Linked DNA regions of Homo sapiens: region 2 is linked to region 1. The links are contacts of gene promoters, found by promoter capture Hi-C in blood cells and fetal thymus (Javierre and others, 2016). All regions are on one chromosome and are shown on one strand. Each heading gives the region's core, a stretch centred on a gene start or on the middle of the fragment in contact. The rest is flanking DNA. Distances are from core to core; before and after follow the strand shown. Region 1 holds the start of GPX2 (glutathione peroxidase 2). Region 2 overlaps SPTB (spectrin beta, erythrocytic).

Region 1 (6,695 bases), core at 2,632-5,131:
TCCCCAACCAAAGGGCTCATTGTCTTTTCCTCCTCTACCTCCCATTATCACTTTCTCTTTTTCCCCAGTTCTGAAGAAGAGCTGTAAAGGAATAATATAATTCACATTTCCCGTAACTGCACCTGCCACTGCAGACCTTGGCCAGCGCTTGCTTTCCTGTCAGTAATTAGGGCATCCCTTGATCCGTCAGATCCTCCCCTCCCAAAGCTTTGTGTGCTAGCAGCTCCTCTATCCCACCTGCAGTTTGTAGCTTCCCTCCGCCCTCTGTCAAAGAACACACACACAGGCTGGCCGTTTCCACACCTGCCCTTTATTGGTCTCTTCTAGCAGAGTGGCTCCAGGCCCTTCACGCCTCTCAGACACCACCCATGAGGGTTTAGGAAGGTGCCATCATTCTGTGAAGGCCCAGAGCTTACCCAAGTCTTGGAGCCCAAGTTGAATCACCAACCAGAGGGTTGGGAGAGGAAAAGGAAACAGGCAGAGGGGAAAGGCAAGGCTCTGCAGTGAAGGGGACTGATATCAAGGGAATGCTGAGGTCCAGCAGTGTCTCCTGAAGGCATGCTGCATCCTAAGGCTCCTCAGGACTGGATGGAGTAGGAGATCTGTGTGTTGAGCAGTTCACATCTATATGGCAACTTTAAGGAGGCGCTTGATGTCAGGCTCAATGTTGATGGTTGGGAAGGTGCGGCTGTAGCGTCGGAAGGGCTCTCCCTCCGGCCCTATGAGGAACTTCTCAAAGTTCCAGGCCACATCTGAGCGGCGCACAGGGCTCCAAATGATGAGCTTGGGATCGGTCATGAGGGAAAATGGGTCATCATAAGGGTAGGGGAGCTTGTCCTTCAGGTAGGCGAAGACAGGATGCTCGTTCTGCCCATTCACCTCACATTTTTGGACAAGGGTGAAGGTGGGCTGGTATCCACCCCCAGGACGGACATACTTGAGACTGTTCAGGATCTCCTCATTCTGACAGTTCTCCTAGGGGAGGAAAAAGACAAAGTGCGTGGACAGTGGGTGGGGGAAGAGAAAGATCCACAACATGAAACTCTTTCACCCTCCTACACTCCCTCCCCAGGGTCATTCTTTTTCACTGTGAAAGAGAGAGAGACAAGACAGACGAGGTGTTGCTCACTGCAGCCTTGAACTTCTGGGCTCAAGCATTCCTCCTGCTTCAGCCTCTTTAGTAGCTGAGACTACAGACACAGGCCACCATGCCCGGCTAATTTTTTTTTTTTTTTGTAGAGATGGGGTCTCACTTTGTTGCCCATGCTTTGGCTGCTCTTCAAGATTTAGCACTTCTGAGCTGTTGCTTTTGTCTCCAGTCTACCCTGAGCAGTTCTTAAGGTGTTTGAAGCAGAAGAAAGAGAAAAGAGGCTTAGGTTATACTGCTTAGAACCTCCTCTTCAACTAACCTACCGACCCACCTACCCATAAATCCATACCTACACACACACCCCTTTCCTTTCCTCTGCCCTGGTTTTGCCTCGCCTGCTTTCAATTGCACGTGTGTTGAGTATAGCCTTTGCCTCTGCCTACTCAGCTCCTTGAACTGAGGGTGAAATTGAGACCCAGAGGAATGGGATTTACAGCTTCTTGCTTTCTTCTTGCCTTGTCCTAGAACTGAAGTACAAATGGGAAGAAGCTTTGATGAAGGAAGACCCCCATCCAAGAACATCTAGTTTTCAGGTGCCATAACAGCAGAGCAAGTTCAAGGCAACAATGAATGTGTACTCTAAATGGAACTACTTAGTAACCAACAGGCATGAAGTAAATAGGATACAGGATTTAGGGTTTGGCAATAGGCCAGGGGGAGGGGGAGTTGAGGAAATAAGTGCTTGATGGCTAAAGATTGTGAGTATGTAATTATCATTCTTTTCTTGAGTAGGCTGCTACCCAAAGACTGCTGCACCTCCTATCCACTCACTGCTCTCAGCTACGCATGCTTTGGCTCAAAACCTGGTCCCTGCCTTTCCCTCCCCACTGCCATCCCTGTCCTATTCCCTCTCAGCATCACCATTCATGACAATCCAAAAGGCCTATGGGAACCCTTCTTTTCCACCTCTACCTTTCCAATTTAACAGACAGATACCTTCCTCTGGGAGAAAGTTCCTGCTTCTGACCTGTGAGAACTAACTAGTTCAGTCAGTTCCAGGCCATCATGACATCATGAGCCCAGAGCTGATCTCTAGTGGACTTCTCTGTTTTTGTTTCTGTTTTTTTTCCTGAGACAGGGCCTCACTCTGTCACCTAGGCTGGGGTGCGGTGGCACAATCATAGCTCACTGCAGCCTCGACTTCCCAGGCTCAGGCGATCCTGCTACTTCAGCGTCCCAAGTAGCTGTGACTACAGGCACATGCCACCATGCCTGGCTAATTTTTGCAATTTTTTGTAGAAACAAGGTTTCACCATGTTGCTCAGGCTAATCTTGAACTCCTGAGCTCAAGCAATCTGCCTACCTTAGCCTCCCAAAGCGCTGGGATTATAGGTGTGAGCCACTGTACCCTGGCAGATTTCTATTTCTTGATACAAATGGCTGGCTGGCTCCTGGTAGGTTATAGACTCCCTCCAGCAACTTGCTAGGCTGAAGAGATGGTGTGAGGCTGGAGGTACTTCTGGGGCTGGAGGGACATCTCGAAAGAGGGTTTGCTACTTCTGTCTCTCCTGCTCTAGAAAAGGCCAGACAGAAAACTTAGGGAAGAACAGTGAGAGCAGTGAACAGTTTGGGCTCAGGTTTGTCACAGCCAGTGATGCTTCAGCCTTCCTGCTTTCCTGTCTTCCTCACCTTCATACCACTGTGAATTGAACTAAGGGGATTATAACGAGAGGGTTCGCTTGGGTTCATTCTCCCTGCTTGTACGTTAAAATCATAGGTGGAAATAGAAGAATCCCTAAAAGAGAACTCGAGGTGTGTGGGCTGAAGATCTATAACAGCTTGACCCATTAATCAGAAATAGGTGCATGTAATGCCCAGAGGCACGTGCCTTTTGAAAACCTTTCTCTTTCCTGCTTATTTTCTTTCCACTTGGCTAATTTAAACCAACAAAAATCATCCTCAATCTAAATAACAGTTTGCTTGCATTTGCATAGTACTTTATATTTTTCAAGTTACTTTTGTATATCCTGTCCCCTAAACATCATAATAATCCTATGAGCTAAGTGGTATTATCCCCAATTTACAGATGAGGAAACTAAACCGAAAAATGAAGCGCCCTTTCCGAGGGCACAGAGCCATTAAATAGCAAAACCAAGTCCAGCTAGAGCTAAGGTCTCTTGAGTCTGTCCAATTCTTGTTTGATTCCTGGCCTCTACTTTCTCCACTCATTTATTCAACAAATATTTAATGAGTGCTTTCTGTGCCCTAGGCACTGAGGACACAGTGGAGAGAAACACAGACCTGGAACCAGCCCTCATGGAGTAATATAGTAGAAAGACAGTAAACTATAAAAATCACACAGCCTCAGTGTTTAATCTTAAAAAATATATACCTTCTCTTGGTATGTCACATGCACCTAAAGACCTAGCTTAACAAAACATACCCCATTATTCCAGACACTCCAAAACATGGTCATTCAGCCTCTCCTTTTATCCCACCTGAGCTACACCAACCCAACACTTTTGGTGCATTACAAGGAGGGACCCCTCACCTGATGTCCAAATTGGTTGCAAGGGAAGCCAAGGACCACCAGGCGCCTGGGAAAGCGGCATTGCAGCTCGTTGAGCTGGGTGAAGTCCCGGGTGGTTGTGCCTCAGAGCGAAGCCACATTCTCAATCAGCACGGCCCTGCCCCGGAACGTATTGAAATCTACCTTCTCCCCATCCAGGCTGATGGCACTGAGGTCATAGAAGGACTTGGCAATGAAAGCCATGGTGAAGCGCAGAGTGAGCCCCGCAGAGAGGCCTGAGCCCACTTATGAGCCTATTAGAGGGGTGGGGAGGAAGGAGGAGCCAGGAAGGAGGACAGAAAGGATCTAACAATGGAGCTTTGAGCATCCCCAGGATGACTTAGCAAAAACAGGTCCCCACCTGTAAGTGCTGTTTGAACAAGGAGGTTGCTCCTCCTATTAACAGACTGAACAAGGCCGCCTCCCCGCCCCACCCTGCTGCAACCTGGGAAGGGCCAATTTGATATCTATGAGCAGAGGTAAATAATTCACTGCTTACAGGAAACCAGAGCCCTAAAGGTCGAATGGAGAGGAAAAAAAGGGAGGGAGGGATGCAGGATTGACTCCTACTTGCCCCATCAAGTTGTTCTCATTTGACACAGACGTTTATTGAATGCCTGCTGAGTGTCAATCTCTGAATTGTACAGTGAGAGGGCAGGGTCTGCGGAGATCTGAAAGATGAAGAAGAGAATTGAGCCTCCTATCCATGGGACTCAGATGACAACTGAAATATACATATTCCTGTTCACGTTCTTCTCTTTGTTGCTTTCCACCAGGACAAAATCAAAGGGACCCTTAGGAGGAGAGTGTGTCATTTTCTAGGGGAAAAAAGAAGTTTTCAGTGCCTCAGCTCTTGCCAGGCTGAAGAGACAAAGTTGTGTTTATCTTGAAAAGTCTTTCAGTGCGTGGTGCCACTTGTCCTGGAGAACACACCAGCCTCTGCCCCTGCACTGTACCATCTCCTATATTATATCCCCCACCTCCACCTCATCCCCCAGCCCCCAAGTCATGAGGCTCAGTCGTTGCTGGGAGAATGGTGAAGAGGAGTCACAGAACAGGTGGATAAACTTAGTGGATGAACTGCACCTACCTTCCTCTCAGACAGAGATTTGGTCCCCAAGACTTTTCAGAGCGGGTTTGTGCTGGTCACCTTCCCACAGAAGGAAGTGTGTGGAGGAAGTTGAAGCTGCTGTGGTTCCAGACGCAGGCAGGTCACCCCTGATGCTTTCAACAAGAGGCGTGCAGTGCATCGCAGGACATCTGCTAAGGGCCATCTCAGAGGCCCACCCCTGGAAGCCACAGAAACCGAAAAGACCCAAGCACCCGCCAACTCAACAAGTTACTCTTTTAAAAATGCCTTGATTTCTTCATCAGTAAAACTAGCAATGGGGCTTGACCTAGCTTTGGGATTTTAGAGTGAAATTTCAATAACAAAGCAAATGTTTACTAGGGTGTTTTCACAGGGGCACATCCATTGGGAACTGTCTCCTTGGAACAAAGAATAAGCAAGTCCGGGGAGCAGCTGGTCTTGAGAATCTGATTTGTTGAGATGAGATGAAGTAATTATCACCAGGGAGCGCCAAGCTGCCTTGCAGCTTTTCCATGGCTGTTCAAGTATACAGGGACCATGTGTCTCAGCTGGCTGCTCCCTAAAAACAAGTTTCCATTACCTAAGTGGACAGAAGGAGTGACAGGAAGTGTAGAGGGAAGTGTGTCCCCTGCTGAAGCTGGGTGGAGTTCCTAGAAGCAACCAATAAGAAAGAGTCCCCACCAAGCCACTGAGTCACAAGGACTTGGCACTGATAGTGGGCAGAACTGTAACTTGCCGGATTTATGTGCATACCTAGAGCTTCCCCCTAGTACTCTCTGGGCCTCCAGAGACACCTCTTATTCTCTGCTCTTTTGCAAGCCTTCTTCAAGAAGGCCATGGGAGTTCCCAAGATGAGGAGTGTGGGGGTTCCCTCTTCCTTAGGTACATGCCATCCCTTTTCTCCTGGTGTGACCTTGGACCCTTCAGACTCCCAGGGTTCTCACCTTTCCTAATGGAATATACTTGGTGAGGCTCTCCTAAAATATCTCTGTCTCCAAATTTACCTCAAACTGGCCTCGCTTTCCAAAAGCTTACAACTTTAAGCATACACTAAGCAGCGTATGATTCTTATGGCTTTCTGTGGGACAGTGCTTGCTCTGGACACAGCACTGGCTTAGGCAGAAAGCCTGGGTTGGTGGTTCTTAATTCTGACTGCAAATGAGAATTGTTTGTAGGAATTTTTCTAGAGATGCCAAAGCTTTGCCCTCCAGTGATTCCAATTCAGTGGTTTACAACCACAATTCTGCCACTGTTACTTCGGACCCTTAGGCAAATCTTTAAGCTCTTTTTATTGAGACAGGGTCTTTCTCTGTCACCCAGGCAGGAGTGCAATGGTGCAACTGCAGCCTTGACCTTCTGGGCTCAAGTGATCCACTGGCCTCAGCCTCACAAGCCACCACACTCAGCTAATTTTTTCTAGAGACAGTGTCTCACTATGTTGCCCAGGCTGGTCCCAAACTCTTGGGCTCAAGCAGTCCTCCTGCCTCGGCCTCCCAGAGTTGGGATTACAGGCATGAGCCACTGCACCCGGCCAAATCTTTAAGTTCTCTGATCATCTGTTTCCTTGCCTGTGGGACCTGGGTAGATAACCACCCTCCCCATCTCACACGGTGATGGTTAGGGTCAGAAGAGTTTATCTATCACTAGTGCCGGGTAAAGTGTAGTGAAAATCTTAAGACTACTGTTGTCCTGCGTTGTCCTACTCCTTTCTTCATTCAGTCCTTATCCCCAATATTCTCCACCTCCATCAATTCCATATCCCAAAGTATGAAATACCTGCAGTCCTGAGATCCCAGTCTGCCTCTGCTCCCCCGAGGTATCCAATCACAAATCTGAAAGATTATCCAGTCCCACCTCATGCCTTCAGGAAGACCCGTTCCTGACCCACACAAACAGATGAGACTCATCTTGGCTTTAAAACCTGCTCATAGATGTTCAGCATCCTC
Region 2 (6,521 bases), core at 2,063-4,562, 120 kb before region 1:
GGCCAGCTTAGAGACTGATGTTAAAACGCTAAAATCTGCTCAGGGATCTACAGGGCAAATATTCCTGCTGGGATCCCAGCCCTCCCCTTGGCATTGCCAAGGTCAAATCCACCCCCTTACAGGAGCCTTCTGCAACATTTTCCTACCCTTCTTCCTTTTCACTTTAGTTAGGCTGACTCCCAGTTTCATAAAGAAAGTCATTCATTCTGGAGAGAGGTCAGGTTTTTATGTACTAGGACAGATGAGCCAGATGGCTTGTTTCTTTAGGTCCAGGAAGGAAGACCTGGGAGTGGTATGAAAGGCAGAACAGGGAGTATTTCCTTTGGAGTTGAGAGGAATTTTACTTAAGAAGCAGAAAAGATCACATCCAGTCACCCCAATTCAGGTCTTCCAACCATAGGTCATTAAATGGAGATGGACCTAGAGAAACTGTCTCATCTGGAAAAGCATTTGACAAGACCCATCATCCTTACGTTTCTTGGGCCTCCCATGTCACCCAGCCAGATGGCGGAGACACAGCCAGGGTCGTGGACTGGATAGTCTTATGGAGAGAGAGAGACCTGCATGGCATGGGGCTTCATCTCATGGGCATCAGGTCTGGGGGAAGGGGAAAGAGCCCAGAGCTCCAAGCACAAACATTAGCCTGGTTTCCTTGGTCCCTGGCTTTTCCTTCCAACTCAGAACTTCCAAGGCAAAGGAGGGTGGGGGTTAAGAAGGAAGAAACAGGTCCTGGAACAGGCCAAGGTACAACAGGCAAGGAAAAAGACCAAGCTCATGATCTTGAATGTCTGAAGTTGGGAAAAGAGAAAGGACAGAAAACACCGATGGGAAATTTTCTTAGTACTAACATTATCTAACATTCACCTAGCATTTTATTATAAATAAAAACTTCCGTAAACTTTATCTTATTTGCTCTTCACAACAACCTTGAGAAAATACTATCATCCCCATTTTATAAAAATGGAAAAGGAGTCAGTGATCCTCCACTGCGGTGGCATTAGAGGCAGAATCAGGACTTGAATCTGGATCTTGTGACATGTTCCTCCTCACCCCAGGACCTTCAGTTTCAGAAGAAGACGCCAGGCCAGTCTCCCCAACCTTGCCACATATACCTATGAAGTAGATCACTGCTATCTTATAAGCAACTCAGGGCTGAATCCCCTCCTTGCCTTAATATTCCTGTGAGTGGGAGAGTGGCTGAGAGCTCCTTCTCCCTAATGTTTCTTTTGAAAGACACCCCTGCCTAGGCTGCTAAGGTGGCCCCAACAACAGTACTGAAGGGAAAAAAAGTCAAGACGTTGAGACTAGGAAGGCTGACATGCTCCCTTTCTCCATTCTGCCTACCCAGCAGAATGGGCACATCTGGCCACCCTATTTAGACCTTTCCAAAGCTTTAGCTCAAGCCCAGGTCACTTAGAGTGGACTCTCAGGAGAAGGAAGCCAGTAAACCACTTAGGTTGTTTGTTCTTGAAAATCTTGAAAGGACCTCAAACTTGCATATTTACTTGTTGGCCAGATGTTCTGAATAGTTAAGGCCCAGGCATACAATTCTATGCTCTGTGGCTTTTCCTCTCCCTGGGGGGCATTCAGATTCTCTGGTAAGTCAGATGCATGCTCCTGGTGAGGAGGAGGCTCAACTAGGCACAGCCAAGGTCAGCAAAGGCTCTTTCCTGATCAACCTAGGACTGACCACTAAACACAGAGTCTTGCTCTGTCACCCAGGTTGGAGTGCAGTGGCGTGATCTTGGGTCACTGCAACCTCCGCCTCCCGGGTTCAAGCAATTCTCGTGCCTCAGCTTCTTGAGTAGCTGGGATTACAGGCATGCACCACCACGCCCAGCTATTTCTTTTTTTTTTGGATTTTAGTAGAGATGGAGTTTCGCCCTCTTGGCCAGGCTGGTCTTGAACTCCTGGTCTCAAGCCATACACTTACCTCAGGATCCCAAAGTGCTGGGATTATAGGCATGAGCTACCACGCCCGGCTTTGTGCTCGGCTCATTAACCTGTCTCCACCAACTTCCCAAGCAGCTCATCAGACGTGGTGACAACACACACAGGCCAACTGGAGAAACCCGGGGCCCTTCTGCCTGCCAGAATCACACACACCCTTCAATTCCCAGCTCAAAGGCTGCCTCCTCCATGAACTGTTCCCCGATTTTCCTTGCATCTCTTCCTTGGCTCTCTCATTGCTGTTTAATTTATGTGCCCATCCTACAGTTCTTCTCTAATTCCACTCATGCTAATTAATTGTGAACATAGTTCATTTTTCCCTAATAGATTTTGAACTCCTGAGAGACAGACACTATACTGAATTCATCTCTGTGGTTCCCCTCTCCCCTTTCATGGTTGGCCAGGGGTTTAGCTTTAAACATAGTAGGAGTACAACAAGCAACTGTTAAAATAGAATTTACCTTGGTTTCTTAAAAAAGATAAAAGAATCTCTGCACAAAGGCCAGTCCCCACTCTTACCTTGCTTTGGCAAATCTTACGGAATATGGTACCCCTCTCCCTCCACCTGGATCGCCAGGGTCATTGCAGCTAGATCCAGCCAGCACAGAGATATAAGAAGGTAAAACCAGACTGACGACAAAGCCAATGGTTCCAAGTTTGGTTGGCTTAAATTAACATACACAAAAGCAATGGGTCACCGTTATGGTCCGTCCCCAAGGGAAACCAAGGGAGAATTTTGTGGGGTCAAGGAGGGTGAGAAGGAGATAAAGAAAGAAGAAAGAGAGTTTCCTGTAAAGAGCAAGGACACCAGGGGTAATGACTGAGACCCAAGTGGATTCCTTGTCATGACAAGGGAGATGAGACACCGCAGCATTCCTTTCCCGGCATGAGAAGCCCAGACACTCCCAAGATGTGAGGTCATTATGGTCCCAGAGGGGTCCAGGGCCCTGCTCAGGCTTCAAGGTCTGCCAGGGACTGTGGTATCTGGGAGCTGAGTACAGGGAGGGAGTGGGGAAGAGGATTACTACAACCTTCAATTTGGGCCATAAGGTATGGGGGCAGCGGGAGAATCACTCCAGAAAGTGTTTATGGGGAAGGTTGTACTCTTCTTAGGAGGTGGAAGACGGCAACAGTCAATGATAGGGAAACAGGTCCAGTGTGGGCTGCTGACTGGTGGATCAGGTGAAGGAACCCACCTTCCACACATACACACACAACCCCATGTAACTCAAACTTTCTTATTGGCCGAAGACTTAAGGTCGGAATATACTTACCCTGGGTCAAGTTCAGGGAGGCAATAGTCACAGGAGTTGGGGAAAAAAAAAAAATCCCAAGAATCAGATATCAGCCAACAGGGGGAGGAGAAGTCATTTCTACTAGAGATTTAAGATATTCTCCACCCCCACCTTCTCTCTCTCTCTCTCTCTCTCTCACACACACACACACACACACACACACAGAGAGATCTATTATGAACCTGCTAAGCAAAAATCTAATTCCAGTTTAAGGATGAAAGGTTTCATCAAGAAAATCCTTCCTGAGGCAGTGGGGAGGATGTTATCTGTTCTCGATTTCCTATCCAATCACTCCTTTTGGGACTACAGAGAGGACTATGGTAATTCCTCTCTCTAGGCCCAGGCAGGAAATCGGGGTTAACCAGGAGGCCCTGTGAACCTGCGCCCGGCTGTCCAGCCCTCAGACACTGCTTTGCCCAGACTCTCGTACTTCTCACTTGGCCGCAGGTCACTCAGGACAGAGGCAGAGGGCAGGCCCCACCTGGTCCCAGCTCCAGCACCTCCTTGCTTCTCAGAGGCCTTGGGGGCAGAGGCTGCCTGAGCTCCCTCCCAAGGGGACCCCCACCTCCCTGAGCCCGACAAACACGTCTCCATCACTGCCATGCCAGGGCTCACCCAACACACACAGAGGATTCACACTAGGTGGGGAGGGCTGTGAACCTTGTGACTGTGAGAATGCCCTCCAACCCTTGTGGCCCCAAACAGTACCTGCCAAGGCCTTTATCCGGGACCTCTCAAAGAGCCTGGCTGAGCTGTTGTCATTATCCAGCTCGTCGTCTGGGGCGTCCCAGCGGGCATTGATCCTGCTGTAAGGTGGCTGGTTGCCCACATTTTCAAACTCTGTGGCCGATGTCATGTCAGCAGGCTCTTAGCAGCTCCGCCTGCCTCAGTCTTCATGGAAGGATCCCTGGGGGACAGCAACACAGTCAGAGGGTTATCTCTCTACCCCCTCGGACTTTTTCTCCGGGGAAACTTATTCGGAGCATCCAACGTGAGTAGATCCTGACAGAAGCAGAACGCCATGTCATCTGCCTGGGCGTGCTTCCTACCAGGGTCTCTGGGTCGTTTGTTATAAAATATTGCAGCAGCAGCAGCAGCAACAGTACCGGCAGCAGTGGCAGGGATGGAGAGCTGCACGTAGCAAGGGTCAGGACGGCCAGCAGGTGGAGACGTCAGTCGCAGCCAGCTGCTTCCTCCAGACCAGCCGCCCCGCCGCGGGGAGCACCCCGGGAGAGAGGAAGCTCTCCTGGGAGCCAGAGGCAGCAGGGCACAAGCTGGGGAAAGCAACCCTCACCCTGAGGACTAGGCCAGGACCTAACCTGGTGGGGGAGATGGGGACAGGCCAGGGGAAGGGAGAGGCTGGAAACAGGCTGAGTCTGACCCATATGGGAACCATGGGGAGAGATGGATGAGAGAGTTAAGCCGCCACTGACGCCACCAGCCCGGGGCAGCTGCACTGGGGGGACTTCACTCCTCCCGGAGGCTTTCTGAGAGCCCTCTGAGTTCCTTCCCAGCAGTTGGTATTCAGAAAGCTGACCTCGCATTTTAGGGCTTCTTTGGAGCATGACCAGGTGCTCAGATGAGGTCTCCTGTTGAATTCCAGGACAGACTGAGCAACCCAAAGGAGCCTGCTGTCCCATCAAGCACGTGGCAGTCGGGGCATCCCATGGACAATGGAACCGTGCATTGTGAGTCCATGTGATGAACCAGCGCATCAGGAGCACTGGGTCCTCCCTCACCCGTCATCAGTCATTCCTACTCACTCATTCATTCATTTACAGTTAATTCAAATATGTACCAAGCTCCAACTAGGTGGCAGGCACTGTACTAGGCAGGGGCAAGTAAGACAGGAAAGTCATGTCCTCACAGAGCTTGGAATCTGGTGGCAGAGACACACAATTAAACAAGCAACTACAAGAAGGTGTGATGTGTGTCATGGCTGGCTTAGGTGGGGACTCGGCGGGGACTGGTATCAGGGAGGGGAAGTTGAAGCTTATTCCTAAAGGAAGCTTGGAGGTACCCATGAAGGGACAGGTGGGAAAGGACAAGAGTCCAAGCAAAGGGAATAAAGAGTAGGTGTAAAGTCCTGAAGGTAAGAAAGAACACAGAAAGCTTTGAGAACTTTAAGAAGTAACGGGAAGGCAGGGGTGGAGTCAGGGGAGAAAAGTGAGGAGGGGGCCAGGGGAGCCAGGCTTGGTCTTCAATGCCCTGGACCCTAGGAAAACTATTAGCTTTCTTCATCTGTACCTGACATTTGGTCCTCTTTCTAGGGATCTTAAGGGACTCCAAGATCAAGTCTGTAAGAGAATAGGGGACCCAGAGCCTTCACAACCAAGAGAGCAAAGCGGGAGGCAGGGAGGCTGTGAGGCAGACCTGTGATGGGGGTTGACAGCCAGTGAGCTGTGAGGGAGACCACTCCCTCTGTGGGTGTGTGCACCCACGGCACACACACAGGCTCATATCTGACACACTGACACACACCAGCACACACATGCACATCCACCAGGCACATGATCACGGAGGCACTGAAGCACATTCACCAGCCCAAGTGTGAGATGGCAGCAGGGCTACAGCCTTATTTTTCAGATACAGACTCACTTCAGACTGCATTTTCCCCAACCTGATGAATCCATCCCACCACATCCTTGTGAGGTAAGATAGGAGCCAGGATTACCCACCCTAATTGCCTTGGGAGAAAAACCAAGGCCTGCTGCAGGAGGAGGCCTCCCCAGGGTCATCCGGTGGAATGACTGCGGCTGGGACCAAAGGCCAAACTGGAGCGCAGTTTATCCCCCTTGACCAGACGGGTTTCAGGAGGGCAGGTGGGGAAAGGACTGGAGCACAGTTTATCCCCCTTGATCGGACAGGTTTCAGGAGGGCAGCTGGGGAAAGGACTGGAGCACAGTTTGTTCCCCTCAATCAGAAGGGTTTCAGGAGGGCAGGTGGGGAAAGGACATGGTGCATGGGGACAGAGGGCATTTCCCAGCCAGGGCTTAGCAAAAGTGTTTGCCACTCAAGAGAAGGGAAGGTGCAAGGTGGGAAAACCAGTCATCATCCCGAACACAGGATGCCCCATGATGCCAGACCTGTGCCCAAGACCACCCTTGTGCCTTTGAACAGCCTGTCCTCTTCTGCAGATGGACTTGCTGCTTCCAGGACTGAGATTTCGCACCCAACTGGCTGGGCAACGATAGCCGGGAAAGATACCCCCCACCCCCGGCCCCACACCTTTCTCTATTTCCCTTAAGGGAAACTACCACTGACTTGGTCTCTGAG

The links. The method cuts DNA at HindIII sites, captures the fragments that hold promoters and counts their contacts. A CHiCAGO score of 5 or more calls a contact.
Region 2: a fragment that was not itself captured here is called in contact with the fragment with the promoter of GPX2 in region 1 in 1 of 17 cell types (megakaryocytes); the score reaches 6.3 in megakaryocytes.

Annotation. Positions count from the first base shown.
Region 1 is chr14:64,938,864-64,945,558 of GRCh38, forward strand. It overlaps GPX2 (glutathione peroxidase 2), which reads right to left and starts at 3,882. Exons shown (of 2, transcript NM_002083.4): 1 at 3,642-3,882; 2 at 295-975. The coding sequence starts at 3,863. The coding sequence ends at 625. The region is part of intron 3 of CHURC1-FNTB (CHURC1-FNTB readthrough); the gene reads left to right. The HindIII fragment of the contact is 4,140 bases long and covers 1,638-5,777 here.
Region 2 is chr14:64,818,994-64,825,514 of GRCh38, forward strand. It overlaps SPTB (spectrin beta, erythrocytic), which reads right to left. Exons shown (of 36, transcript NM_001355436.2): 2 at 3,954-4,152. The coding sequence starts at 4,101. Among named protein-coding and RNA genes, the nearest start is that of MIR7855, 37 kb to the left of the region's middle. The HindIII fragment of the contact is 3,846 bases long and covers 1,390-5,235 here.